Regions from separate parts of the Homo sapiens genome. Here regions 1, 2, 4 and 5 are each linked to region 3. The links are contacts of gene promoters, found by promoter capture Hi-C in blood cells and fetal thymus (Javierre and others, 2016). All regions are on one chromosome and are shown on one strand. Each heading gives the region's core, a stretch centred on a gene start or on the middle of the fragment in contact. The rest is flanking DNA. Distances are from core to core; before and after follow the strand shown.

What was found. Contacts are between HindIII fragments. The CHiCAGO score rates a contact against its expected background, and 5 or more counts as called.
Region 1: a contact is called between the fragment with the promoter of ALDH9A1 here and the fragment with the promoter of COP1 in region 3, in 1 of 17 cell types (naive CD8 T cells). The highest score is 6.3, in naive CD8 T cells.
Region 2: a contact is called between a fragment that was not itself captured here and the fragment with the promoter of COP1 in region 3, in 2 of 17 cell types (non-activated CD4 T cells and naive CD8 T cells). The highest score is 8.9, in non-activated CD4 T cells.
Region 4: a contact is called between a fragment that was not itself captured here and the fragment with the promoter of COP1 in region 3, in 1 of 17 cell types (neutrophils). The highest score is 5.2, in neutrophils.
Region 5: a contact is called between a fragment that was not itself captured here and the fragment with the promoter of COP1 in region 3, in 1 of 17 cell types (non-activated CD4 T cells). The highest score is 6.0, in non-activated CD4 T cells.

The regions. Positions count from the first base shown.
Region 1 is chr1:165,697,059-165,702,591 of GRCh38, forward strand. It overlaps ALDH9A1 (aldehyde dehydrogenase 9 family member A1), which reads right to left and starts at 1,504. Exons shown (of 11, transcript NM_000696.4): 1 at 1,320-1,504. The coding sequence starts at 1,500. It also overlaps the pseudogene CA14P1. RefSeq lists enhancers at 1,240-1,469, 1,313-1,895, 1,760-1,939 and a silencer at 1,500-1,689. The HindIII fragment of the contact is 1,150 bases long and covers 1,336-2,485 here.
Region 2 is chr1:163,317,314-163,322,225 of GRCh38, forward strand. LOC127814295 (a long non-coding RNA gene) reads right to left here and starts at 4,422. Exons shown (of 5, transcript NR_182654.1): 1 at 4,309-4,422; 2 at 1,869-1,978. NUF2 (NUF2 component of NDC80 kinetochore complex) reads left to right here and starts at 4,641. Exons shown (of 14, transcript NM_145697.3): 1 at 4,641-4,899. It also overlaps a transcript of RGS5 not described here. RefSeq lists enhancers at 4,381-4,590, 4,631-4,860. The HindIII fragment of the contact is 6,415 bases long and covers 35-4,912 here.
Region 3 is chr1:176,204,392-176,209,716 of GRCh38, forward strand. It overlaps COP1 (COP1 E3 ubiquitin ligase), which reads right to left and starts at 2,895. Exons shown (of 20, transcript NM_022457.7): 1 at 2,181-2,895. The coding sequence starts at 2,587. COP1-DT (COP1 divergent transcript) reads left to right here and starts at 3,274. Exons shown (of 5, transcript NR_185981.1): 1 at 3,274-3,480. RefSeq lists silencers at 2,333-2,692, 2,723-2,932 and an enhancer at 3,433-3,502. The HindIII fragment of the contact is 7,879 bases long and covers 1,753-5,325 here.
Region 4 is chr1:186,603,133-186,608,647 of GRCh38, forward strand. No RefSeq gene overlaps it. Among named protein-coding and RNA genes, the nearest start is that of PTGS2, 75 kb to the right of the region's middle. The HindIII fragment of the contact is 1,426 bases long and covers 2,167-3,592 here.
Region 5 is chr1:165,677,626-165,682,861 of GRCh38, forward strand. ALDH9A1 (aldehyde dehydrogenase 9 family member A1) reads right to left here. Exons shown (of 11, transcript NM_000696.4): 4 at 4,482-4,616; 5 at 2,862-3,058; 6 at 1,817-1,957. Among named protein-coding and RNA genes, the nearest start is that of ALDH9A1, 18 kb to the right of the region's middle. The HindIII fragment of the contact is 2,296 bases long and covers 1,746-4,041 here.

The DNA of each region.
Region 1 (5,533 bases), core at 254-2,753, about 11 Mb before region 3:
ACATTTTTCTCCCCACATATATTCCATAAAACCCAGCAAAATAAACACAACACAAAACCAAAACAAAAAGCCCCTTCTTCCTTATCTCTGTGACCTTCAGAGTTCCCAGAGTAAATCCAGTGCCTAGCACAGTGCTTAGCACACATTAAGCACTGGATTAAAAAGTTTTATTTCAGCAAGATGAATAAATTGTGGAGAGCTCACGTAGACCATGGTGACTATGGTTACCAATACTGCATCATATACTTGAAATTTGCTAAAAGAATAGATCTTAAATATTTCACTATCCAAAAAAAGCCATTAACTATGCAGAAGCAATGGATAATTAGATTGACCGTGGTAACCATTTTGCAAGGTATACATACATTACAACACGTTTTACACCTTAAGTATATACAATTTTTATTTGTTAATTATACTTCAATAAAGCTGGGGAAGAAAGTACTGAATAAAGGTGGGGTTTTTTCCTTTCCCAATTCTGATTAATGTGCAGAAATATTTTAATATTAGAATGTGGAGACAAAGTCCTCATTCGTAGTCATTAGAAACTATCTGTGAGCGTTCCTTCATTCCCAGCACAAATGATTATCTTCCCCACAACCCCGCCCCGTTCTTTTAGAATTCCTCTCCTATGCACACATTTGAAGACAATAATACATCAGTCCTGGTTTTAAAAGGGGGAACAGTTGGCTGGGCTTGGTGGCTCACGGCTGTAATCCCAGCACTTTGGGAGGCTGAGGCGGGAGGATCACCTAAGCTCAGGAGTTCGAGACCAGCCTGAGTAACATGCTGAAAACCCGTCTCTACTAAAAATACAAAAATTAGCCGGACATGGTGGTGGGAGCCTGTAATCCCAGCTACCAGGGAGGCTGAGGCGGGAGAAGCACTTGAGCCCGTAAGGTAGAGGGCGCAGTGAGCTCTGAGATGGTGCCCCTGCACTCCAGCCTGGGCGACAGAGTGAGACCCTGTCTCAAAACAAACAAAAAACAAACAAACAAACAAAACAAACAAAAAAGGAAGTTAACAGAGGCACGACTTCCCCCACCAGTACTTTGCGAACTCTGTTCTGGCCCGGGTAAAACAACTCACGATCCTACCACGCAACTCATCAGCTTTGCTTTTCCTCCCTACCCATCCCTGCCCGGAGGCACTCGCGTTGCCCCAGAATCGCTAGTTGCCTACACACACAACCTTAGACTCTCCACTGTCACTGTCTTGTGCTCAAGTCAACGCTGCAGAACACAGGAAACGGGGGCTGGCCGGGAAATCCGCGCATCCGGCCCCAGGGCGCCCCAGCCTCCCCGGCTCGTTGCAGTTACCGGTTGCTGGCTCGAAAGCTTTCTCGGTACCGGAGGCGTCCGCCGGCTCCACGCGGGCCCCGCCGCGGTAATTGAGCGGCTGCGACACGACGAAGGTGCCAGTGCTCATGGCGGCGACAGGAGAGGGCCGAAGACTGCGAAGAAGCGGGGAGAGCGCGGCCAGGCCTGCTCGGAGAAACATGAGTGGCGGACGCAGCTCCGCGGCAGAGGCTGACGGGCCGCGGGAGGGGCGGGGCCGCGGGAGGGGCGGGGCCGCGGGATCGGTTCTAGGAGATTTTAGGGGCAGTCACTCGATTCCTCTGCGGTCCAGGCCAGGCCCTCCCCTCGCCAGGAGGGTGGAGCAAGACACCACATTCTCCCCACCACCCCGCCATACCCCACACAGTCTCCAGGCGGGAAGAGGACTTCCTTCTTCGTGATCAATATTTGCGTAGCACTTTGCAAGTGTTTTCGGGTTCATCATTGCATGTAAGCATCCTAGGATCCCATTCTTAATCCTATCGCCTGAAGAAGGCAGAGGATTGGAGTGCCAAGAGTCTTTGGTGGTTACTTCACTGCTAAACCACCGTTTCTGTAATTGTATAATGCTTTTTAAAGGGTGACAGTAAAAAGCAAGGGGACTGTGAACGAGATAGATGATATTGTGATCTGAAACTGCTTTTTAAATTCTTAAAGAGAGACTGGGCGCTGTGGCTCTCACCAAGGCTGGAGGATCGCTTGAGCCCAGGAGTTTGCGGGCAACAGAGAGAGATCCCGTGTCTATAAAAAAATAAAATAAAAATAATAAAAATTGGGCCGGGCGCGGTGGCTCACGCCTGTAATCCTAGCACTTTGGGAGGCCAAGGCGGGCAGATCACCTGAGGTCAGGAGTTCGAGACCAGCCTGACCAAAATGGTAAAACCCCGTCTCTACTAAAAATACAAAAATTAGCTGGGTGTGGTGGCGGGCGCCTGTAATCCCAGCTACTTGGGAGGCTGAGGTGGGAAAATCGCTTGAACCCGGGAGACGGGTTGCAGTGAGCCGAGACTATGCCATTGCACTCCAGTCTGGGTGACAAGAGTGAAACTCAGAAAAAAAAAAAATTATCCAGGTGTGGTGGCACACGCCTGTGGCCCCAGGTACTTGGGCGGCTAAGGTGGGAGGATCCCCTGAGCCCCGGGGGTCCAAGCTTGCAGTGAGCTATAATCGTGCCACTGCACTCAGGCCTGGGCAACAGAGCGAGACCCTGTCTCAAAATAAATAAATTCTGAAGGAGCAATGTAAATGCTATTAATGACAAATATTGATAGAAACAGAAGCCTAACATACAGAATACGAAGAGCAAAGGCCACAGGAAAAAGTGTCAGGAAACAAAATGCCTTCTGTAAGACAAAGCAGCCACCCAGAGGCACTCACAGGTCTGTCAGCTGAGGGATCTTGCACAAAGGTTCATTCTTCTCACCAAACTTCCATGCACCTCCAGTAGAGACTTTGACAAACAGAAAGTAATTGGCAATTTGGACATTTCTTTTAGGATTGTTTCTCTTCTGGGGGCTGCTGTCTTTCTCAATGTTTTTTCCTTTACCTGCCAGCTCACCAGCGCAATATTAGGGAGTGTGGTTTTCAGGTTTAGAGTATATATAATGTATTCTGATCAAGTTTTCTGGCACTCTATACCAGTTTGTTCACTTTTTCAGTGCTACTGAGATGTGTAGGTCTTGGTCCTCAGATGGAAACAGCAGTGCCCAAACTCAGAATACCTGAGGCCACACTCACATATTATTTTATTATTGTCCATTGCAAACAGAATTGAAACATATCAGGAGTTGGTGACGAGCAGCACTATAGATTTCCAAGATCACTGAATGGTCATTTAGGTACAGAAACTATACGTCTCAAATTTTATGGGACAATTTCTATTTAAAAGATTCTGTCCCCAACCAATGCATTTTGACTTGTCACATCATAATTCCTGATGTTTGTTTTGGAAATGTGGTCGTGATGTCTATTGAATTAATTCATAGATGATAAGACTGACAAACCTCTGGCCAGGCACAGGACTCACACCTGTAATCTCAACACTTTGGGAGACCGTGGCAGGAGGATCGCTTGAGGCCAGGAGTTCAAGACCAGCCTGGGCAACATAGTGAGACTCTGTCTCTACAAAATATTTTTAAAAATTAGCCGAGCATGGTGGCACAAGCGTGTAGTCCTGACTACTCAAGAGACTGAGGTGGAGGATTGCTTGAGGCCAGGAGTTCAAGACTGGAGTGAGCGATCATGGCACCACTGCTCCAGCCTGGGCAACAGAGTAAGACCCTTCCCCAAAGAAAACAGATCTCCTCCAAAATATCTACCTTTTAAATATCTAGCTGTTCCTCTTACCTATCTGTGCTTTTATTATTAAATTATTATTTTTAACTTTTAGGTTCAGGGGTACATGTAAAGATTTGTTACATAGGTAAACTTGTGTCATGGGGGTGTGTTGTATAGATTATTTCATTACCCAGGTATTAAGCCTAGTACCCATGAGTTATTTTTCCTGATCCTCTCCCTCCTTCCACCCTTATTATTAGATTATTAATGTATTATTTTTCATTAGCAAAATCCAACATGTAGAAAGAGCTTTATAGGTTACAGAGCCCTTTCACATTTACTTTCTCACATGAAGCTCATAATAACCCTACAAAAGAAAAGGAAACTAACAGAGATTGAGCTAGGAGGTAGTATGTGGCACTTTGTCAAATATCTCAGTGACAATCATGCAAGATAGGTTTTATCATCCCCATTGTACAGATGAGGAAACTAATAGAAAGGTCGTAGAGCTTCCCCATAAAGGAGCTAAGGCTGGAGTCCAGCTCTGTGCAAGTCCAAAGTAAATTTCTTCTTACTACACCAGGTCGAGATGTTGACCCCATGAAGGTTGCTATCAAAATTCACTCTTATGTTGGTGGATATTTATCAGAAACCCAGAAATCTGGTTCTAGGGAGATTTAAAGGACATGTAAACTTCTTAGGATATTTGTCAGCACTACCCAGTAAGCAGCCCAGAAGTCACAGAGGATGCTGGCCAGTTTACAAGTTCAGGGTGAAATTCAAAGGGACAAAGATGCCACAAGGAGCAGAAGGAATGCCAAAAGAGAAACACCTCTTAGATGGGTGTGTGTTGGAGGGCAGATTTGGGGGTAAAAAGAGATAGAAAAGGAGTGGAATCATTGCTAAAGGGGTAGAAGATCCAAGGAGAAACTGCCTGCCTCACAACTTGCTTAAAGCCAAACTTGGGTGCCACTAAAGCCCCCTCCTTTTCCACATTTCCTTCCCCAGACAACCAGAGGAGGAAAAGAAAAGCAACTGGATCCCCTTCTGCCACCTCCAGGTCTCCTAAAGGAAGAAGTCCTTGGGAACCCATACTGTGTGATCCAGGGTCCTTCACTGGCCTCTCCCTCAGGTCATCCAGTTGTCAATTTGTTGCTTTGGCTTAGTTTCACCATTAGCAGTACTCTTCTTGGACACAACCTCCAGAGTAAAAGCAAATGCCGGATGCGGTGGCTCACACCTGTAATCCCAGCACTTTGGGAGGCGGAGGTGGGTGGATTGCCTGAGCTCAGGAGTTCCAGACCAGCCTGGACAACATGGTGAGACCCCTGTCTCTACTAAAAATACAAAAAAAAAAAAAAAAAAAAGCCAAGTGTGGTGGCGCACACCTCTAGTCCCAGCTGCTGGGGGGTTGAAGCGCGAGGATCGCTTGAACCTGGAGGCAGAGGCTGCAGTGAGCCAAGATTGCAACATTGCACTCCAGCCTGGGCGACAGAGCAAGACTCGCTCTCCAAAAACAAAAAAAAAAAAAAAAAAAGAAAGAAAAGATCTTTAGGGAGTACTAGCTCTTAGTCTGTCCTCTAGAACTATTAATACATCAAACACACACACACCACATTTATTTTTATTTCCTGAACAATAGTATGTTTACTACTGTTGCAACTCCTTCAGTGGGGAGCCAGAAAACCATCCACACAAAAAGAAAGGAAAAAATTACTCAGAATCCTGTTCCTGCCCATTTTAACAGGGCCTTTCACTTAACAATAATTTACAGATTGAATTTTATTTTAAGCCTGAGTGTCCTCACATTCTTCATATACAGAATGTAATTTTCTCACTGAAGACCTAACAGGTTTCCTAATCTAGGCAGCCTGACACTAGGATTAGGTCCTTAATGAATATTTGTTGAATGAACACAT
Region 2 (4,912 bases), core at 1,992-4,491, about 13 Mb before region 3:
TGACAGCAAATAGGGTAGTCCCTGTCTTCACCAAAGCTTGTTTAAGAAACTCTATCCTTGATTTCTCCCACTTCTGCCCTCACAATTCAGTCACCAAGTTTTGCCACTTCTACTTCCTAAAATTCTTCTGAGATCTATTTCTATCCACACTGGCAATGCCCCAGTATAAACTGCCATCTTTCTTTCCCTGGATTACTACAATTATCTCCTAACTGGTTTCCTTCTTGCTGGTATTGCTGCCCTTTGAGTTCTTTTTCTCAGAGTAGCGATTCATCATCTAAATACTAACCTAATCATGTTGAAACCATTCAAAGTTACTATTAGCCTTAAGAAGGAGTCCAAACTTTGTGACATCATCACTAATGTTCTTCATGATCTGGTCCCTGTTTACCTCTCCACCCCTGTCTAGAATCTCTCAGTTCCTAGACTGTGTTCTTCTTCATAAACATTGTTAGCCTCTATCTAGAATACTTGTTTTTTACCCTTTCAATTCCTAGCTATTATCAAGCATGGAGCCAATAAGACTGAACTGCCTTTTTTTTTTTCTTTTTTCCCTATGAGAATGTAAACTCTGTCAGGAAATTATTAGATTGGTTATTGCCATATTTGCTTGTTCATTATTATATTTCTAGTATCTAGCTCAGTGTCTGGCACAAAATAAGGGTTCAATGAATATTTTCTGAATGAACCCACAAATGTCAAGAAAGCAGAGAGAAAAGTCAACTAACTCAGACTATGGAACAAGGAAAGGCTTCTTGCAAGAGCCCTAAAAAATTAGTAAGGATAAGGAAGAGTCAGCCAAAGAAAATAAAGATAGTCCAGACAAAGTCAACAAGAATGCAAAAGGTCTCAGGTGTAAAGCAGCCTCATGAATGCGAAGTGGGTAGGATGGGAGATGGTACTGGAAAGGGAAACAAGACTGGGAAGGAAAACAGTGGCAAGATAATGAAGACCCTAGCACACCAGGCCATGGAGTTGGACTATCTTGAAGGTGACTGCAGAGGAAGATTAGAAATTTAAGGAGGCAAGTGAAATAGATTTACATTTGAGACTGGTCATTCTGGCTGCTACTTACAAGATGGATTTGGCGGTGTAGGTGGGGGTGGTAGTAGTTATGGCTGAAAGCAGTGAGATGAGATAGAATTGGGAGTACAAATGAAAGCAAAGGACAAATTAGAGTTTGAAGGGCTCGTGAGCCTCCCGAAAGTCGGAACTTCAAGGAACAGGTCAGGAATAGCAGTAGTTTTAGAATCCATGAGCAAATAGGTTAAAACAATGAGTGGACAGTGCTCACAGGGAAGATACAGACAGAAAACAACTCAAGGTTGGAACTTTGGGAAATACTATTTAATGGGTAGGCAGAGAAAAAAAGACCCCCAAGAAGCATGAGACAGGTAGAAAAAGATGGGAGAAATGCAAAACGAGTTTCAAGGAGGGTTTAATCAATGATACCAAATGCAAAAGAGAGGTCTAGAACAAGAAACAGTGGTCATACATTGGTGGAGGAAGTACATTTCATTTTCTGAGACAGACAAATAAGACAGGTGGATATATGTGGCATTGACAGAAGTGGAGAGGGAGGAAGTTATATATTGTATGATGGCTTTAATTTTCTCAATTAACTGGGAAAAAAGTACTGGGATTGTGTGTGGCCCCTATGGAATCTCTATTCATAAGAATGGGTGCCTGATGGGAAGTAGAGTGTAGGATCCAGTCTTAGTATTTCACCTATTCCTACCACATTAGACCAAGTGAATCAACTTTTTGTCCCTATTGATCTGTTAAAGTAGAAATAACAATTTGGAAACCCTGTCACTTAAAAAAAGAGATTTGTTTAAAGCACTAGATATCACAGCATCACCACTTGCATTAAAGTCCTAGCTGCAGGCTGCCATGGTCTCTTTGGAACACCCCCATCTTGTCACTCAAAGGTCCACTCAGTCCTGATAGGTCTGTCATCCAGAATTTAAAGTGCAGTCTAGAAAAGGAACATGAAATTAAAATTAGAAAGGCAATAGACACAACAAATTGCAGATGCATACGAATGTGTTATGTGCTTGAAACACACCTTTAAGACCACTCTGGTCACTTTCTATTAAAGAGAGGAATTTAGGTTGGGAAGAGGAATGAAGAAAGGGTAAAGTTTGTGAGAAATCACTGAAAGTTACAGGACAGGGAAATTACTGATGATAAATTAAAGGATTGTCAGGAATCAGGGAAAGAGCTGAAGATGGAGACTGACAATCTGTCATATATCACTTTGTGTCATTTTCTCCAGTGTTTCCAGCTAAGAATTTATAGACAAGATGCACGGATAAGATTTTGACAGGCACCTGGGTCAGAGGCATCAGACACAGGAAGTTTGGATGCTGATAAACCATGCAGTCTAGGCTGTGAAGGGAGGTATTAGCAGGAGGGCTGTCAGGGAAAATGAAATAGTAGGGCAAATGTAGCACATGTGAGGGTACAAAATTATGATGCTACAATCAGAAAGAATACTAAAGTTTTCTGCAATAGTCTGTGTTTTTATGGGTGATAACAAAACTCTTAGACTAATGTCTAGGTTGAGAATTCTGATGTTCCACCTTCTACCTTACACTGACCAGTATCAGGCAACTAAAAGTTTTAAAAAGTCAGATTTAACCTTCTAATTAAGGTAATTTGAATAAACACTCATTTTTTAAATAAATAATTTACTTCTAATATAACTCAATTTATCACATCAATAGTAATATTAACCCCCAAATAAACAATATTTATTGTTGATATAACAAAATGGTTGTCTTGCTCTTTTCTTCCTTTGCCTCATTTTTCTCTTTCTCCATGGTCCATTCTAATCTTGGCTTTCACATAAATCGCTTGGTTTTTTTTCTAGATTCTCAACGACAATTTAGACATTTGTTGAGCACTTGCCACTTGCAAGGTATTTTCCTAGGGACCATGTATAAATAATAATAGTCAAAATAACAGCTAATACTTTTCAAGTACTCACAATTTTGCCAGGCACTTAATTAAGCACTCTACAGGAACTAATTCACTTAATCTTCATGATACCGTATAAAGCAGATAGAACTGTCACCCTATTTTAAAGATGCAGAAACGAGCTCAGTTAGGTTAAATAGCTCGCCTAAGTCCACCTAGGTAGTAAATGGTGTGATCAGGGATTTCAATCCAACTCCCTTTGACCGTAGAGATGTGCTCTCAGTCACTACGCTATGGTTCCCTTCCCTGCCTCTAAGGACATATAATTTGGTGGAAATTATGCATGTATCAGTAATCAATTTGATTTGGCAAGTGTCAATGAGACAGGTCTCTTTTTTCTGCTTTCCTCACTGACTCTAATATTTTTTTAAAATCTATTTTCTTAATGTCCTTTTGGGTCTTACTAGATTCCGACTTTGAGACTTACATCAGTAAATAGACATTGAAAGGAAAGACAAAAGCCCTGAACTAATGATATGAAATGTATTTTTATTTAGAATTGGTATAGACTTCACTATCAATAGGTTTAGTTCTTCAGGACAGGACAAAGCAGCGGAATTTGTGTCTACATTCAATACAACCTTTCTAGCACTTTTTTCACATAATTCAGTTCAGGTTCCCCATCCAACACACGACTGTCACCAGATGATGCTCTACTCTGTGACCAGATACAAGTCCTATTACGTCTTCTCCTGTCCCAAACCTCAATAAAACTTAATGGCTTTCTCCCCTGACAACCAGGCCTGCCATGGCTTCCTAACTTGTGTTAAATGCAGTGTTTCCACTCTTGCCAAAACAAACAAACAAAATACCATGTAAAAAAATACAGATTTCAGGGCCCCTTATCTGAAGAATGCAACTCACTCAGGAATGTGCAAATTTGGGGAACAGTTCAGAGGTGAAAAGCACTGATCGAAGAGGGAGAAGCTAAAATCAGGAGACCTGGTTTCTACTTTACAGTCCCACTTACTGTATAACTTCTAACAAATCACTTCTCTCTGAGTCCAGTTTTCATATCGGTGAAAGCGAGAGGATTTGACCAGATGAACTGTTATGTTCCTTCCACCTCTTGAAGTCGTGCTTATGAGCACAGAGTCAGAGGATGTGTGTTCATATCCCAGCTATGCTACTTGTGAACTACTGTGCGCAGAGAACTGCATTCTCTGATTCAGAGCCCTCACCTGAGGGGATGATAGTATCTCTCCACTATCCCTTTTCTCCCCTTTAATGAAGTCTAAATGAGATGATGCTTATAAGCATCTAACAAAACCCGGCACATAATCAATGTTCAACAAGTTATTATTACTCTGGAATTCTATAAATTACCTCTGTACTTCCTCCCTTGTCACCCTGAACTTAGTGAAGTTTCCTTCACTTGGTTTTGCTCTTCAACTCGGACCCCGAAAACGCTCTAAACGCTGGCGGAAGTCACGCAGAGATGGGCTAGACGCTCAACCCCGGTCTCTTCCCCGAAACCGCGGTGCTCCCACTTCCTGCAGTCCGAGGTTCCGACTCGACGCCAGCTCCGCGAGCAATGGTTCCGCCCTGCGCCCTGCCCCTTCCATGACAACTCCAGTCCCACCTGCCTGGCGTCTCTTGAGCCCAACCGGCATCCGTCGCGGTTGGACGTGGGCTTGGCGGAATGGGGCGGGACTTCCAGTAGGAGGCGGCAAGTTTGAAAAGTGATGACGGTTGACGTTTGCTGATTTTTGACTTTGCTTGTAGCTGCTCCCCGAACTCGCCGTCTTCCTGTCGGCGGCCGGCACTGTAGGTGAGCGCGAGAGGACGGAGGAAGGAAGCCTGCAGACAGACGCCTTCTCCATCCCAAGGCGCGGGCAGGTGCCGGGACGCTGGGCCTGGCGGTGTTTTCGTCGTGCTCAGCGGTGGGAGGAGGCGGAAGAAACCAGAGCCTGGGAGGTGAGGGGCGGGC
Region 3 (5,325 bases), core at 1,645-4,144:
TGAATTGGTTCACAGTTTGACCTTGGGGCATACAAGACAAGACCCACAGCCAAACGGGGGGAAAAAAAAAGAAAAAAAGGATTCCTTGGGCCTTGCCTAATCCATATCATCCTACCCCAAGAGTCTGGACAAAATCAAACCTGGCTTGAGTTTTAAATCAGATTCTCATTAATTAATTCTTCTGAATATTAAACCTCACCAGAAAAAGAAATAATTAACTAATGAGATTCTTAGAAAGTGAAATACTCAGGACCACGGTGGCTCACACCTGTAATCCCTCCCAGCACCTTGGGAGGCCGAGGCGAGCAGATCACCTGAGGTCAGGAGTTCAAGACCTGCCTGGCCAACATGGTGAAACCCCGTCTCCATTAAAAATACAAAAAATTAGGCAGGTGTGGTGGCAGGTGCCTGTAATCCCAGCTACTACTCGGGAGGCTGAGGCTGGAGAATTGCTTGAACCCGGGAGGCGGGGGTGGCAGTGAGCCAAGACGGTGCCACTGCACTCCAGCCTGAGTGACAGAGCAAGACTCCGTCTCAAATACAAATTTTTACTCTTTTAAAAAAAGAGTTCCCAATTCCCTATAGCATAGCCTGCAGTGCACTGAACTTCATATGGTGCCTGGCCGACAGTGAATGTCATACAAGTATCTCTTGAATGACAATGATCGATTCCTTATTCCTCACATCTTTTACTTTATTTTAGTGTACTTACACGGAGGCTAACATGTTTGTGTTCGTTAAGTATACTAAAAATTAAAATGCAAACAGTGGCTAAAAAGACAACTAAATTATGCACACCCCACTTTGTTTTATTAGCTTATTAGCTACTCGCACTATCGACTGTGTAGAAGTGCAAACACTTCTCAGCCCCAACCATAAACTGCTTATTTATAAATAACAATCATATTACAGCCCAAATGTTCAATGAAAAACAGATTAATTCTGATAAAGAATAACGTACAAAAAAGCAGAAAGGTGAATAAAGACATCATTTTTCTGCAGGAACTAGAAACCGTAAGTCTAATCAATAACTTTCCTAACAGTTCCAACTTCTAGCTCTATCTTATTTAATAACACCAACTCAGACCATCTTCAACCCTGATCTGAATCAACTTCCCTCATAATGACTGTGCAAGCAGCCAACTTCCTACATGCCTAATATTTGATCAACAATTTCCTCAAAAAGGAAAGTACGAAACACTACCACTTCTTAAGCAGCTAGCTAACAGCAATTACTTCTCATAATCCTACCAATATCTAAAATCCAATAAAAATTCCAAAACACTCTCAAGCAAGACAATCAACACCACCTTTCACTTCATATGACTAACCTCTCTATCCCAAATGTCATGACTAAATGTTACTCTGTATCATTCAAGATGCCAACTATGACGACAAAATGTCTATACCTAGCATTTCTCAAGTCAGAAGTTCCAGTATACTCTGTTATCCAGTATAGTACAGTTACATCTGACACAGGGATGTTATTTAACAAACGTGGTTCTCTCTTTTCAAGACACTTGGTGGAGAAGTGAAAAATCTGTTAACAGACTTTGACTACAGTCGTCTCAACAGCCGATTCCTAAGTGGCCCATCCTTTGAAATGGAAGAAGATATTTACACATACATACGATAGGTACTTACATTATTATAAAAAGCATGTCTTTATAAGACATCCATGCTTATGTTTACAGCATCATCTACCATACTTCAAATAAATTTTGACCAACTCCACCCCTCTGCATCCGAGGAAGCTTAGTCCTCTCCATTTGCAAATTTCATTCATCTCAACAAGGACTCCTGATTGACTGAGTGTTCAATTCATCAGAGAGGCAAAAATTTTAAGACTCAACCTCTCTGCCAACTTTGTTATCCAAAACCATTTATTTGACCTTCCACCTCTTCCCTCGTCATTCGTTAAACTCCCTTCACTTCCTCCTCAGCAACACTTACCTACCTCTTTATTATCCCCACCCTGCCTCGCTACTCCAACATTCCTTCACCCCACCAACCAGGAGCTCGAATGCCTGCAAACGCTCGATTCCCTCTGCAGACACCACCACAGCACCAGTATCCCAAGCTCTCCAACAAGCCACCCCCACACCAGACCCCCCGCCCCCAAGCCTAAGCGGCAGAAACTCATAATTTAGGGACAAGGAGGGAGTGCTCTTCAAACCCACCATACGAAGTCGTTGCTTTTGTCCTCGTAGGAGTTGATGAGCCCGTTGCAGAGGGGGGCGAGGAGAGGTCGCTTCCTGCTGCCGCTGCCTAGGCTGGAGCTGCTGCCTCCTACGCCGGCGCTGGGCCTGGCCGCGCAGCTGTGCCGGGACAGGCCCGTGGACACCGCCCCGCCGCCGCTACCCGATACGGCGGGCGCCACCAACACAGGCCGCACCGGGCCCCCGAGGCCGCCCGAGCCGGCGGCCTGGGCCACCCCGCCGGACACCAGCGCTGCCGCCGAAACCGCCACGGAAGGCGGCGACGGGGAAGAGGATAAAGACGAGGAGGCGGAAGTCACCGAGGAGGCCGCCGAGGACCCGGGGCTTGTCCCAGCGGAGCCCGACCCGGCCTGGCGGCTACCAGACATCGTGACTCCCTCCCCTCCAGCCGGGCGCTCGGAGGAGAGGGACCGCGACCTCGACCCTCCGCCGCCTCCCCTCCCCTCAGCCTCAGTGCATCCTGAGGACGCCCGCCGAGCCGGAGGTGGGGCTGAGGAACAATAAAGTTGCGTTTTTTTTTAAGGCAGCCACACAACAGCGTCCCACGGGAGGGGGCGGAGGAAACTAAAAAAGCGGAGTAGAAGGCACTACCGCTGTCGAGGCCGCCGCCGCCACCGCGGTCCCTGTAGCAGCCAACCCCGGCGCGCCGTGGCCGGCCGTGCGCGCGCGCGCGAGCGGCGGAAGAGGCGGGCGTGGCGGGGGATACAACTGGGGACGCAGCGGGGCTGCGCTCAGACGCTCAGGGCGCGCCCTCGGGGTCGGGGCTCCCTGGCGAAGGGAGTCTGTCTGTCCCAAGCCGCTTTCGTTCCAGAAAACGTGCCAGAGGGCAGGCCGTCTTAATACAGTGAAAGAATTGAGGAGACTGGAATGAATGGTATAGGTGGTGGGGTGGTTTGAAAGACGGGAACGTAGCGGGCGGAAACTCTCGAAAAGCGACTGCGCAGGCGCGCGCCGGGCGCGGACGCTCACGGGTCACCCAGGGTATCCGCCCCAAGCGGAGAATATCGGCGCAAGCGCGGAGTAGCCGTGTCACGCATGCGTGCGAACGCACCACATTCCGGAACGGGAAGAAGGAGCTGTCTCTCTCTTCTGAGGGGTAGGCAGGTGCTTCCGAATCGCGGAATGTAGGTGCTCATAAGCTGGAGACCCACGGAAAGAACCTAGAAGCTCCGAGCGGTTGCAGACAGCACTGCATTGAGCCAACGACTCCTGCTCTACTGATGGTGATTCCACAGCTTTGTGAGGAATAAGTTAAGATGAAGTCAGTGAAGTTTTCTGCGAATTGCAAACATTGTAGCAAGTGTTACCAATTTTATTAGTTCGACCACGACTTCACTCCTATATTTTGAAAAGCTGTTTGCCAAATTGAACATAACAATAATGGGAAAACAGATTTTGCTCAATCAGACCCAGCTCAGTCGGAACCTAGGTTTATTGTGGATCTGATATAATTCTAGCACAAAACAAGGAAACCTAGCATTTAATACCACCAGAAAATATACAATTTCTGGTAGGCTTTTTTAGAATATTGAAAATTGATTATAGGCGGGCGCGGTGGCTCATGCCTGTCATCGCAGCACCTTGGGAGGCCTAGGGGGTCGGATCACCTGAGCCTGGAGGTGAGGATCAGGCTGAACCTGAGGTTAGAGACCAGCCTGGGCAAGATAGCGAAACCCCGTCTCTACAAAAAGTACAAAAAATTAGCTGGGCATGGTGGCAGCAGGCCTGTAGTCCCAGCTACTCGGGAGGCTGACATGGGAGGATTGCTTGAGCTGGGGAGGTTGAGGCTGTAGGGAGCGGAGATCCCTACACTCCAGCCTGTGAGACAGAGACCCTGTCTCAAAAAAAAAAATTTTTTTCATTTGCCGCATTCTAAGGGGTGGGAGTTAGAAACAACTGTGTGATTTTATCCTTTTCAATTCTATCATTCTATGATTCTTATATATTTATTTGGGAATAAAGTGTGAAAATACTCATGACTTAGTAAACTACGTGCGTATTCAAGGAGGTAAAGGAAGGCAAAGGTTTTTAAAATTTAAAAAAAAATGAGAATTACATAATTGTTTTTAAACCGTTATCCTTGGCTACGAAGATCAATAACAAGGTGACACCAGTCGGAAACTGGACAGGAAGTTGCTGGGCAGATGTTTTTGCGGAAGTATTTTTTGTGTAAGATTGTGGCTTTTGGCCAGGTGCGGTGGCTGAGGCCCATAATTCCAACACTTTGGGAGGCCAAGGCGAGTGGATCACCTGAGGTCAGGAGTTCGAGACCAGCCTGGCCAACATGACGAAACCCTGTCCCTACTAAAAATACAAAAATTAACCGGGTGTGGTGGCATGCACCTGTAATCCCAACTACTCGAGAGTGTGAGGCAGGAGAATCGCTTGAACCCAGAAAGCGGAGGTTGGAGTGAGCCAAGGTCGTGCCACTGTGCTCCAGCCTGGGCAACAGAGCAAGACTCCATCTCAAAAAAAAAAAAAAGATTGTGGCTTTTGCAGGTTTTTGTGATAGTTTTTGTCATCAGGTGTGCAAGCATGAGACCCCTTCTCTTCATGACCTCTGAATCTATTTTTCAGTGTTTTAAAAAATATATTAGTGACTACCTCCCACCCCCTTTTGTTTAAGAGATGGGGCCCCCCACCCCCTTTTGTTTAAGAGATGGGGCCCCCCACCCCCTTTTGTTTAAGAGATGGGGCCCCCCCACCCCCTTTTGTTTAAGAGATGGGGCCCCCCACCCCCTTTTGTTTAAGAGATGGGGCCCCCCACCCCCTTTTGTTTAAGAGATGGGGCTGGGATGCAGTGACTGTTCACAGGCAAGTCTATAGCACAGTACAGCCCCCAAATTCCTGGGCTCAAGCAATCCTGCTGCCTCAGCCTCCCAAGTAGCTGGAACTGTAGGTGTGTACCACCGAGCCCATATAATTCCATTTTGATTACGACAGCTTTCACGGAAATTAGGCATTAAGTAGGGTAAAAACATTTATAATGTTTTAAAGATTAATTTTTTAGGAGATTAATCTTTCAGAAGAGGTGGGAAATTAGGAACAAAGACTAGGAAAAATTAAAGCAGTTCGAGCGTAAATGATAAGATTCTAGATTAGGATG
Region 4 (5,515 bases), core at 1,630-4,129, about 10 Mb after region 3:
CCCTTTATTTCTTTGCACTTGTTTGTACTTTTATTGTTTTATTATTATTTTTTAAGTGGTGAAGTCAAATTTAATTTTTTTAACTTTTATTTTAGAGTCAGGGGTACATGTGAAGGTTTGATATATAGGTAACAATAACAATAGTTATTTCTTTCATTTTACTAATTTTGGGTTTGGTTTGTTCTTGCTTTTCTAGTTTCTTGAGATACATCATTTTCTTGTTTATTTAAATCCTTTCTACTTTTTTGACATGGACATTTATTTTTATAAACTTCCCTCTTAGTACTGCCTTTGCTGTGTCTTATAGGTTTTGATATGAGGTGACTCCATTTTCATTTGTTTGAAGAAATTTTCAAAAATTTCTTCTGAATTTCTTCATTGACCCATTGGTCATTCAGGAGCATATGGTTTAATTTCTATATATTTGTTAGGTTTCAAAAGTTCTTGTTATGGATTTCTGGTTTTATCTCATTGTGGCCAGAAAAGATACTTGATATAATTTTGACTTTTTTGAATTTACTGAGACTTGTTTTGTGGTCTAACATATGATCTATCCTGAATAATGTTCCACATGCAGTTGAGAAGAATGCATATTCTGTATCAGAAGGAGAAAATGTTCTTAAAATATTACTTAGGTCCATTAGGTGTAGAGTGTAGTTTAACTCAAATTTCTTTTTTTTAAATTTTATTTTATTATTATTACACTTTAAGTTTTAGGGTACATGTGCATTGATTTTCTGTTTGGATAATCTGTTCATCATTGAAAGTGGGTTGTTAAAGTCCCCTACTATTATTGTATTATAGTCTATTTCTCTCCTTAGATCTATTAATAATTACTTTACATATTTGGGTGGTCTGATATTGGTTGCATATATATTTACTACTGTTTATGTAATGAACTTCTTTGTCTTTTTTTACAGGTTTTGCCTTAAAACCTATTTTATCTAAGTATAGGTAGCTCTGCTTTTTTCTTTTTTGGCTTCCATTTTTGCACAGAAAATCTTTTTTCATCCCTTTACTTCCAGTCTATGTGTGTGTGTATATATGAGGTGAGCTTCTCATAGAAAGTATATAGTTGGGTATTGTTTCCTAATCCACTTAACCAGTCTATGTCTTTTAATTGGAGAATTTATTGCATTTATATTCAATGTTATTATTGATAATAAGGACTTACTACTGCCATTTTGTTACTTGTTTTCTCTTTGTTTTGTAACTTTTCCCTTCTTCCACTCTCACTGTTTTCCTTTGTGGTTAAGTGATTTTCTCTGGTAGTATGTTTTAATTGCTTATTTTTATTTTTAGGATATTTATTATAAATTGTTGCTTTATGGTTACCACGAGGCCTATAAAATCATCTTATAGTTATAACAAGTTTTTTATCAGCAGATAACTACTTCACTTTGATCATAAAGTAAAGAAAAGAAGCAAACACAAAGAAAAACTTAAAAACTTTGCACTTTAACTCCACCTCCCCATATTTTGGCTTTTTATTCTCTCGGTTTACATCTTTTCATAACTGCATCTTTCTTAACAAAATTTTGTTGTTATTATTGTTTTGATAGCTTTGTCTGTTAGTCTTCATACTAAAGATATGAGTGATTAACACACCACAATTACAGTATTAGAATATTCTGAATTTGTCTCTATACTAACTTTTACCAGTGAATTTTATATCTTCTGATGTTTTCCTGTTGCATGTTAGCTTCCTTTCAGACTGAAGAACTCCCTTCAGTATTTCTTGTAAGACTGGTCTGGTGGTAAGTCATATCCTCAACTATTATTTATCTCAGAAAGTCTTTATCTATTTTTCATGTTTGAAGGCTAGCTTGCTAGATACAGTATTATCATTTGGCAGTTTTCTTCATTAAGCACTTTGAATATATTATCTCACTCCTTCCTGGGTATGATTTCTGCTGAGAAGTCTGTTGCCCAATGAACTTGAGCTTTTTCATATGATGTTGCTTCTTTTTTATTGCTGATTTTAGAATTCTCTCTTTGACCTTGACCTTTGAGTGTTTGTTTATTATATGCCTTGGTGTAGTCTTATTTGGGTTGAATCTATTTTATAATCCTTTATAATCCTTGACAATCCTTGACTTTTCTGTACTTGCATATTTATATTTTTCTCTAGGTTTGGAAAGTGTTACTGTATTATCTCTTTGAATAAGCTTTCTACCTTTTGCCTCCTTCTCAATTCCCTCTTAAATGCCAATGACCCTTAGGTTTGCTCTTTTGAAGCTGTTTTCTAGACCTCGTAGGCATATTTCATTTTTTAAAAATTATTTTTTCTTTTTTCTTCCCTGTGTGTTTTTAAATACCCTATCTTCAAGCTCACTGAACCTTTCTTCCACTTGATAAATTCTGCTGCTGAGACCTTCCAATGAATTTTTCAGTTCAGCCAAAGTATTTCTGAGTTCTAGGATTTCTGTTCTTATTAAAAATTATTCTAATCTCTTTGTTAAATTTCTATGATAAATTTCTGAATTGTTTTTCTCTGTTATCTTGGAGTTCACGGAGTTTCCTCAAAATTACCATATTGAATTCCTGATTTGAGAGCCCACACCATTGCTCCATTGCCTATCACCGGATCTTTGCTTTGTCCATTTGGGGAGGTCATGGTTTCCTGTTTGCTGTTGTTTCTTACGGATTTACATTTCTGTCTTTGCACTAAAGGTTTAGCTATTGATTCCAGTCTTCACTGTCTGGATTGCTTTGGTCTTTCTAGGCTATGCATGTTTAGAGGTTCTGTGTGGTTTGCATGTTGAGTTCCCTTAGCCCCGGACTGCTGCCTCCTTTTTGGCACTAGATGGTGCCCTAAGTCCAAGTTTGCCACAGCTCTCAAAAAAGTTTGGAGAACTGCCTGTGTCAGATGGGGGGCTGTGTGGCAGGAGGAGTCCCAAAGGAGATTCCTTGGTTGTGTGTGGAGGCTGGGTAGAGTTTTGTGTCCTGAGGACCCATGAAGAATGCCTCCTAGAGCCCGGTGCTGCTGAACTGCTCTTCTGGTTTGGTGTCTCTTTTTGCTGAGCTGAAGAGCAGCCCTACATTTTGCACCCTGGGATTGCTATCCCTTCTCCACTCTCTCTCTCTCTCTCTCTTTTTTTTTTTTTTTCAGTCTAGCCGCCTTTAGGATATTTCTCTCTACAGGCACTTGTGATGCTTCTTGAGTTGAGGCAGAAATGGCAGTCCTGCTAAGAAACCCAAGATGGTGGGGAAGCCTGCTGTCTTGCCTGCCTTGATCTCACTTTTTCCATTGGTGAAACCCTAAGTCTAGGGGGACTTTTCCATGTAGTGCCTGGCAACTTAGGTAGGGGAGGCATATCAAAGAAACTGAAGTTCATTTCTCTTACTTTCTGCTTGTAGTTTTTCACTTTTCTGTGGTCTCAAAAATCATCAAAAGGCCCAGTTCTTGGTTACTGGTGATGATAATCTAGGTACTGGATAGTTGTTTTTGGTTTTCTGTGGGGAACACTGAAGCTAGATTATTTCTATTCTCCCATTTTGACGACATCACTCTTGAGAATACAACTGTCATTTATTAAGCCAGACATTAATGAGATTTACAAAATGCATCACAATGCCTCTCCTCTCACTAAGCTTACTTTCTTTCTTTCTTTTTCTTTCTCTCTCTTTTTCTCTCCTTCCTTCCTTCCTTCCTCCCTCCCTCTCTCTTTCCCTCTTTCTTTTCTTTTTCTCTTTCCTTACTATGGTCTAGCCTAGCACTTCTGGCCTCAAGCAATCCTCCCACCTTGACCTCCCAAAGTGCTGGGATTATAGGCATGAACCACCACATCCAGCCTTACTAAACATTTTTTGTTTAGGTAAATGCTTTTAATAAAATATAGTATTTTAAAAATATGTTATTTATACAAACATGCAATAAATGTATTATTTTTATTTTAAATGAATTAGAAAATATATTTTAAATATTTCATTTTAATTTCTAGTATAGTAAATATATATACACAAGTTTGTGTGAGTGCATCCCACATAAGCAAAAGCATTTTAAAATGTATTCAATAATTTTTAAGAGTGTAAAAAAGCCCTTAGACCAAATTTTGAGAACTACTGATATACTTCATAAATTTTACATGCATTGTTTCAATTTAACCTCAAAAAACAGATTTGTGAAATAAACAGGTCTAATCTTATATCTCATTCTGAGTTGTTTAATGCTTTATCCTCAGTGCTTGAACAGCGCCTGTATATTCTAACTGCTCAATAATATTTGTCGAAAGAACAAATATAAGGAAACCAAGATAAAAACAAAAGTTATTGAGATGTGTTTCACAACATGAATACCCTTAACACTATTGAAATGTACACTTTAAAATGGTTAAGATACAAAATTATATGTCTATTTTTTAACCACAAATTAAAAAAAAAAAAGAAAAGAAAGATATTGGGTAAGGTTAGAGTTGAGAAGACTTTTCACCTTGTGTGATATGTGGAGATAAGCATTATTACCTGAGGTTAGATCCACAGACGCTTTGGCAATAGTCTAATCAAGCACTACAAGAGGCAATGGGCTAAGCTTATTATCATGTTCTTGTGCAAGGATTCTCAAGGCCTGATTATTTCTTTCAGGTACAAATAGGGTGAAATGTTTTTAGTAACTGGGCAATCCCAAAGCAGGGAGTTTTTATAATGCCTGTTTTAATTTTACAACGTCCTGGTTCATGTTTTTCTTCCCAAGAAAGGGGTTCAGGGACTAAGTGTTTAGTGAGTTCATACAGTAAAGACCCTAAGAGGGGAAAACTAGAGACCCCTTGATGACAACATCTAATTAAACCTAAGAACCTGGAAAGTTTCTTCTTAGTTACCAACCTAGGAAATTCCTGGGAAAGCTTAACTAGCAGACACCAGATCTGGATGCCTGCGGCACTCAGATCATGTCCTAAATAGTGAACAGCATCTATTGATACTTGTAATTTGTCTCTGGAGACCTTAAGTCCCTTTTCTGCTAACTGCTATAATAAATAGAAGGAATCCTGCTGGGATGCCTCCTTAGTAAGTGAACAAAGTGAGATGTCATTGGTGTATTGAAGGAGTCAACCCTCTAGGAGACTGGAGGATGCTCAAGTCTCGACAGAGTACTTAAGAGAAATAGAAGGGGGTTTCAATGAACCCCTGAGACATGACCCTCCAATACTGTTGATTATTCCAGGTGAAAGCAAACAGGATTGACTGTCAGAGTCATCTGGAATGTTAAAGAAAGGCTGAACATGTTACAGTTTACAACTGTAAACCATTTAGAATCTGGGGGAACTTGTGACAAATGACCGTTAGGGTTTGGAACCACTGGGAAACAGCATAACTATCCTGTTAATGGCTCTTAGATTCTGAACAAATTGCCATCCTTATCCATTAGGTTTTTGTACAGGTAAAATCGGGGTGTTACAAAGGCTGCTACATGGAATAATTAATCTTTGAGCAATTAAGTCTTCTATCATTGACACTGGGACAAGACTTTTTACGGCCTCAGGCTTTAACGGGTATTGCAGTAATTGAGGAAGGG
Region 5 (5,236 bases), core at 1,644-4,143, about 11 Mb before region 3:
AGGCAGGTGTATCATGAGGTCAGGAGATCCAGACCATCCTGGCTAACATGGTAAAACCTCATCTCTACTAAAAACACAAAAAATTAGCCAGGCGTGGTGGCGGGTGCCTGTAGTCTCAGCTACTTGGGAGGCTGAGGCAGAAGAATGGCATGAACCCAGGAGACAGAGCTTGCAGTGAGCCGAGATCGCACCACTGTACTCCAGCCTGGGCGACAGAGCAAGACTCTGTCTCAAAAAAAAAAAAAAAAAAAAAATTAGCCAGCCGTGGTGGCACACACCTGTAGTCCCAGCTATTTGGGAGGCTGAAACAGGAGAATCACTTGAACCCGAACCCAGGTGGTGGAGGTTGCAGTGAGCTGAGATCGTGCCACTGCACTCCAGCCTGGGTGACAGAGTGAGACTCCGTCTCAATAAAAAAATAAAATAAAGGCCGGGTACAGTGGCTCACACTTGTAATCCCAGCACTTTGGGAGGCCAACGTGGGTGGATTGTGAAGTCAGGAGTTTGAGACCAGCCTGGCCAACACAGTGAAACTCTGTCTCTACTAAAAATACAAAAATTAGCTGGGCATGGTGGCGGGCACCTGTAATCCCAGCTACTCAGGAGGCTGAGGCGGGGGAATCGCTTAAACCTGGGAGGCAGAGGATGCAGTGAGCCGAGATCGTGCCACTGCACTACCGTCTGGGGGACAGAGCTAGACTCCGTCTCAAAAAATAAGTAAGTAAATAAATAAAAATAAAAAATAAATAAATAATGATAGTATTGGATTATAACACATAGAATGAAATAAGAATCCATGGGTCCATACTGATATAAATAAATGAATGGAAAACAAACAGGGGTGAAGGGCAAGTTCTTTCTTACAGTAGAAGGTGAACAAATATAGAAGAAATGATGGAATTGGAAAATCACCATTTGCAACCCCATAATAAAAATTGTTTTCAGCAAGAATCGTCAGTGGTGATAGAAGTATTTACTGCATGAAAGTTTGATGAGGAACAGGATAGTCTCAAAATACCTCCTACAAGATCTTATTAACCACAAAGTAAAAAACAGTAACTTTACAGTGAGGACTTACCTTAAAGCAAGTGATCAAAGTTAAATCACCACTGAGTAGGATATGACATCATGTTTGTGGTATTTTTGCCAAAAATTCATAATATGAATCTAACAGAAAACATCAGACAGACCCAAACTAAGGAACATTCTACAAAATGAATGGCCTGTTCTCCCAAAATGTCAACGTCCTGAAAGACAAGAATAACTGAAGAACTGTTCTCAGCTAAAGGAGATTAAAGACAAGACAACTAAAGGCAATGCATCATCCTTGACTGGATCCTAGACCGGAAAAAAAACCATTTTTGTTCTATTTTACTATGAGGACATTAGTCAAACAAGTGGCAAAATTTGAATAAGGGCTATAGATTGAGTAAGGGCTATAGATTCAGTAACAGTACTATATCAATGTTAATTTTTTAATTTTACTAAGTGTACCGTGCTTATGTAAAAGAATGCACTTGTTTTTAGGAACTTTATATTTAGAGGTTAGGGGCCTTATGTCTACAATTTACTCTCAAGGTTCAGAAAAACTTAATATGCCTACGTATGTACAGGCAGATAAAGAAGATGATAAAGTGAATCTGTTAAAATGTTAATATTTGAGAAATCTGGTTCAAAGGTACATGGGAATTCTTTGTACTATTTGTGCAACTTTTCTGTAAGTCTGAAAGTATTGTAAAACAAAAAGCTTTAAAACACACTGTTGGATGAGGGGGTAGAGATTCCTTTTACACCTCTTCCAGGGACAGGTACATACCTGGCCTTGTGTGAGGAAGTTGGCCATCAGCGCCCCCTTTACAGCATTGTTCATATCACAGTCTGAGAAGATGATGAGTGGAGATTTGCCTCCAAGTTCCAAGGTAACAGGTTTGATTCCTTTAGCTGACATCTCCATGATCTTGCAGAACAAGGACAAGGTATTCAGAACTTTAACACAAATTATATTGCATGCTAAGTCAACTAGGCCCTGAACCTACAAAATCATCTTGAACTGTTTGTGACCTGTAGCCTTATTCTTGTCAATATCCTTTGCCTTTTGGCTATTAAAATATTCTATTCCAGAAAACTGAAGAGAATCCACAGAGTTGCACTGACATTAGAAGAGGGAGTTCATTTAAAAAATATTGTCCCAGCCTGGGCAACATAGCAAGACCCTATCTCTACAGAAAAATAAGAAACTTAGCCAGGCACAGTGGCACATGACTGTAGTCTCAGCTTCTTAGGAGGCTGAAGCAGGAGGACTGCCTGAGCCCAGGAGTTGAAGGCTGCAGTAAGCTGTGACTACACCACTATAATCCAGCCTGGGCAACAGGGTGAGACCCTGTCTCAAAAAAATAAAAATAAAAAATATTGTCAATTCACAGGATTGTCATAGCCAGAAATTCTTTTGTGTTATTGTTACTGTGTTTAAGGCTGACAGAGTTCAGAACACAAATTAATGTCAAAATAATGGATCTGAAATAGCCTGAGTAAAAATCCTTTCTTCTATACAAGAAATTAAGTCACTAAACAATACAAGTGGCAGCCCAGGCCCCTGTCCACTAAGACACATCCTCTCCTTAGGCTGGGGCTGTTAATTTCCACCCCTACCTGGCCTAACACAAATCACCCCATGTGTACTCCCTTTCCCCCTTCATACTTTTACAGGAAATTTCACACCTCTGCCTAATAAAATCTCCTTCCCATTCCCAATTCAGGCTAGGTAAAATCAAAAGAGAAGCCTCCAAAATATACTCTGGGTAGGACCGGATTTGCCACATCCAAATGCCATGTGTGTTGACCAATACTGGTTTTGTCCTCACCTTCATGCCAGTGGGCACACTTCCAGTGAAGGAGACTTTGGCCACATCGGGATGCTGACACAGAAACTGGCCTGTGGCAGCCCCTCCCTGCACCACATTGAAGAGCCCAGGAGGTACACCAGCCTCACTGTAGATTTCAGCCAGTAGCAATGCAGAAACAGGTGTAAAGGGAGAAGGTTTAAAGACCATGGCATTACCTGCATAAACCCAAGACACAAACATAAAAAGACTTTCTAAGACCAGTGATCCCCTGAAAACAGGACTAGAGGACAATTCAAAAATGATTCCAATTGTTTCCTCTTCCCCAACCAAATCCTACATCAAAAATGTTATTAATAACCATATTAGTTTGTTTTCATGCTGCTGATAAAGACATACCCGAAACTGGGAACAGAAAGAGGCTTAATTGGATTTACAGTTCCACATGGCTAGGGAGGCCTCAGAATCATGGCGGGAGGTGAAAGTCACTTCTTACATTGGCGGCAGGAGAAAAATGAAGCAGCAGCAAAAGCGGAAACCCCTGATAAACCCATCAGATCTCATGAGACTTATTCACTATCAGGAGAATAGCATGAGAAAGACCAGCCCCCATGATTCAATTACCTCCCCCTGGGTCCCTCCCACAACACATGGGAATTCTGGGTGATACAATTCAAGTTGAGATTTGGGTGGGGACACAGCCAAACCATATCAATAAGTAAACAACTCTTGTCCTTTTCATCTTGGTTTCTCTCATTAAACAGATCCCAAACCCTACAGTTGCCCAGTCTCACATTTGCATATCTAGGCCTTTTCACATATATTATCTCATTTAACACTTTCAACAGCAGTATGAAGTAGGTATCATTAGCTCCATTTTATAAAAGTTGACATTGAAGACCAGAATGGTTCACTTGATGAGAGTCCCCAAAGCTAGTGACTTAATTCTGGTGACTATTAAAGCTAGTGACTATTTTTCCTCTTTCACAGCTGTATCTCAAAGAGAAATAGGCTAAAACAAGAACATGCAATGGCAACAGGACAAAAGCTGCATTTCAATATAATGTCCTAACAGTAATGCTTTCTAACATTACAATTTTTTCTAAGATAAAATTAGTCTTCTTTCCTCAAAGATTCTTCTCTTTAAATACTGTAAGAAAACTATTTTATGTCAATCAGCCAAAGCTCCTCTTTGATAAGAAGCTTATCAAAGCCTTGCTTATCATTTCTCTTAAGACCCAAATGAAGAAAGGAGTTTATCTTCTGCTTCGTAAATGAAGTCAAACTCCTAAGTGCTAACTCCTACCTTAAAATTCTTGTCCAGAAAGGAAGAGAACTTATAAGTAGCACAAATCTAATTCAATTTAATAAGAAAAAATTAAATTTCTTTTCATATACAAAATTAAATAAATAAAACCTGAGAATATCTAGACATGATTGTGTACAACCTTAACTATAAGCTCCTTGAGGGGCAAGACAGGGCAGGAACGAGCCATGTCCTCTGAGGCTTTGAATATCCCAGAGCAGGCCCCTTCCGATTTAAAGTGTGTGTTTATAGAGAGGTGAAAGGTAGAGAATGGGGAGAGAACGAACGAGAGAATGAACGAATGGCTCTCAAATGGAGGGATAATTCATTCTTACCACAGGCTAATGCTGGAGCCGACTTCCAAGAGGCAATCTGAAAGGGGTAGTTCCATGCTCCTATTCCCACACATACCCCAAGTGGTTCTCTTCTGGTATAACCAAACGATCCACCTGGGAGCTGGATGTGTTCACCTATGGGGAAAACAGGAGTAAAGGAGGATGCAGGTCTGTGCTCCCCAAGATTTCACCAACATCTGTACCAGTCTGACTTGTACTCCAGTCAACGCAGCCTCCCCACTTCTCCCAATACACCAGGCTCACCCTGTCTCCATTCTTCTATTTGTTCCAGGCAGTCTTCCACTGGCTTCCACGTATTCTCTCCACATAGAGAACCCTGCCTATCCTTCAAACACATGTTCATCTAACTTGATTTTACAACTCTCTAAGAATTTACTGAGCCTCTATTAGATAGCTTAGATGAAACAAAATGGAAATGAGAGGAACACTCAACAGCAGGGGAAGCATGTAAGTTCCTTGCAACCTTCCTAGGCCCTACCAACCTTCCAATATCAATTGTTGAAAACTTTATACACTGTCAAAAAAAAGTTTGCTAAATAGATAAAACTGGTAAATATGACAAACCGATTCTTATGAAAACTGGTTTTTCAGCAATTTGGTCTAAAGCTCAGGTATCATGCTAGGTGCTTTACATGCACTATCTCATTTAATCCTTAACCCAAGAAGGTAGGAATTATTATCTCCAGTTTAGATTAGGAAAGATAAAGTAATTCCCAGGCCACCCAGGTAGAAAG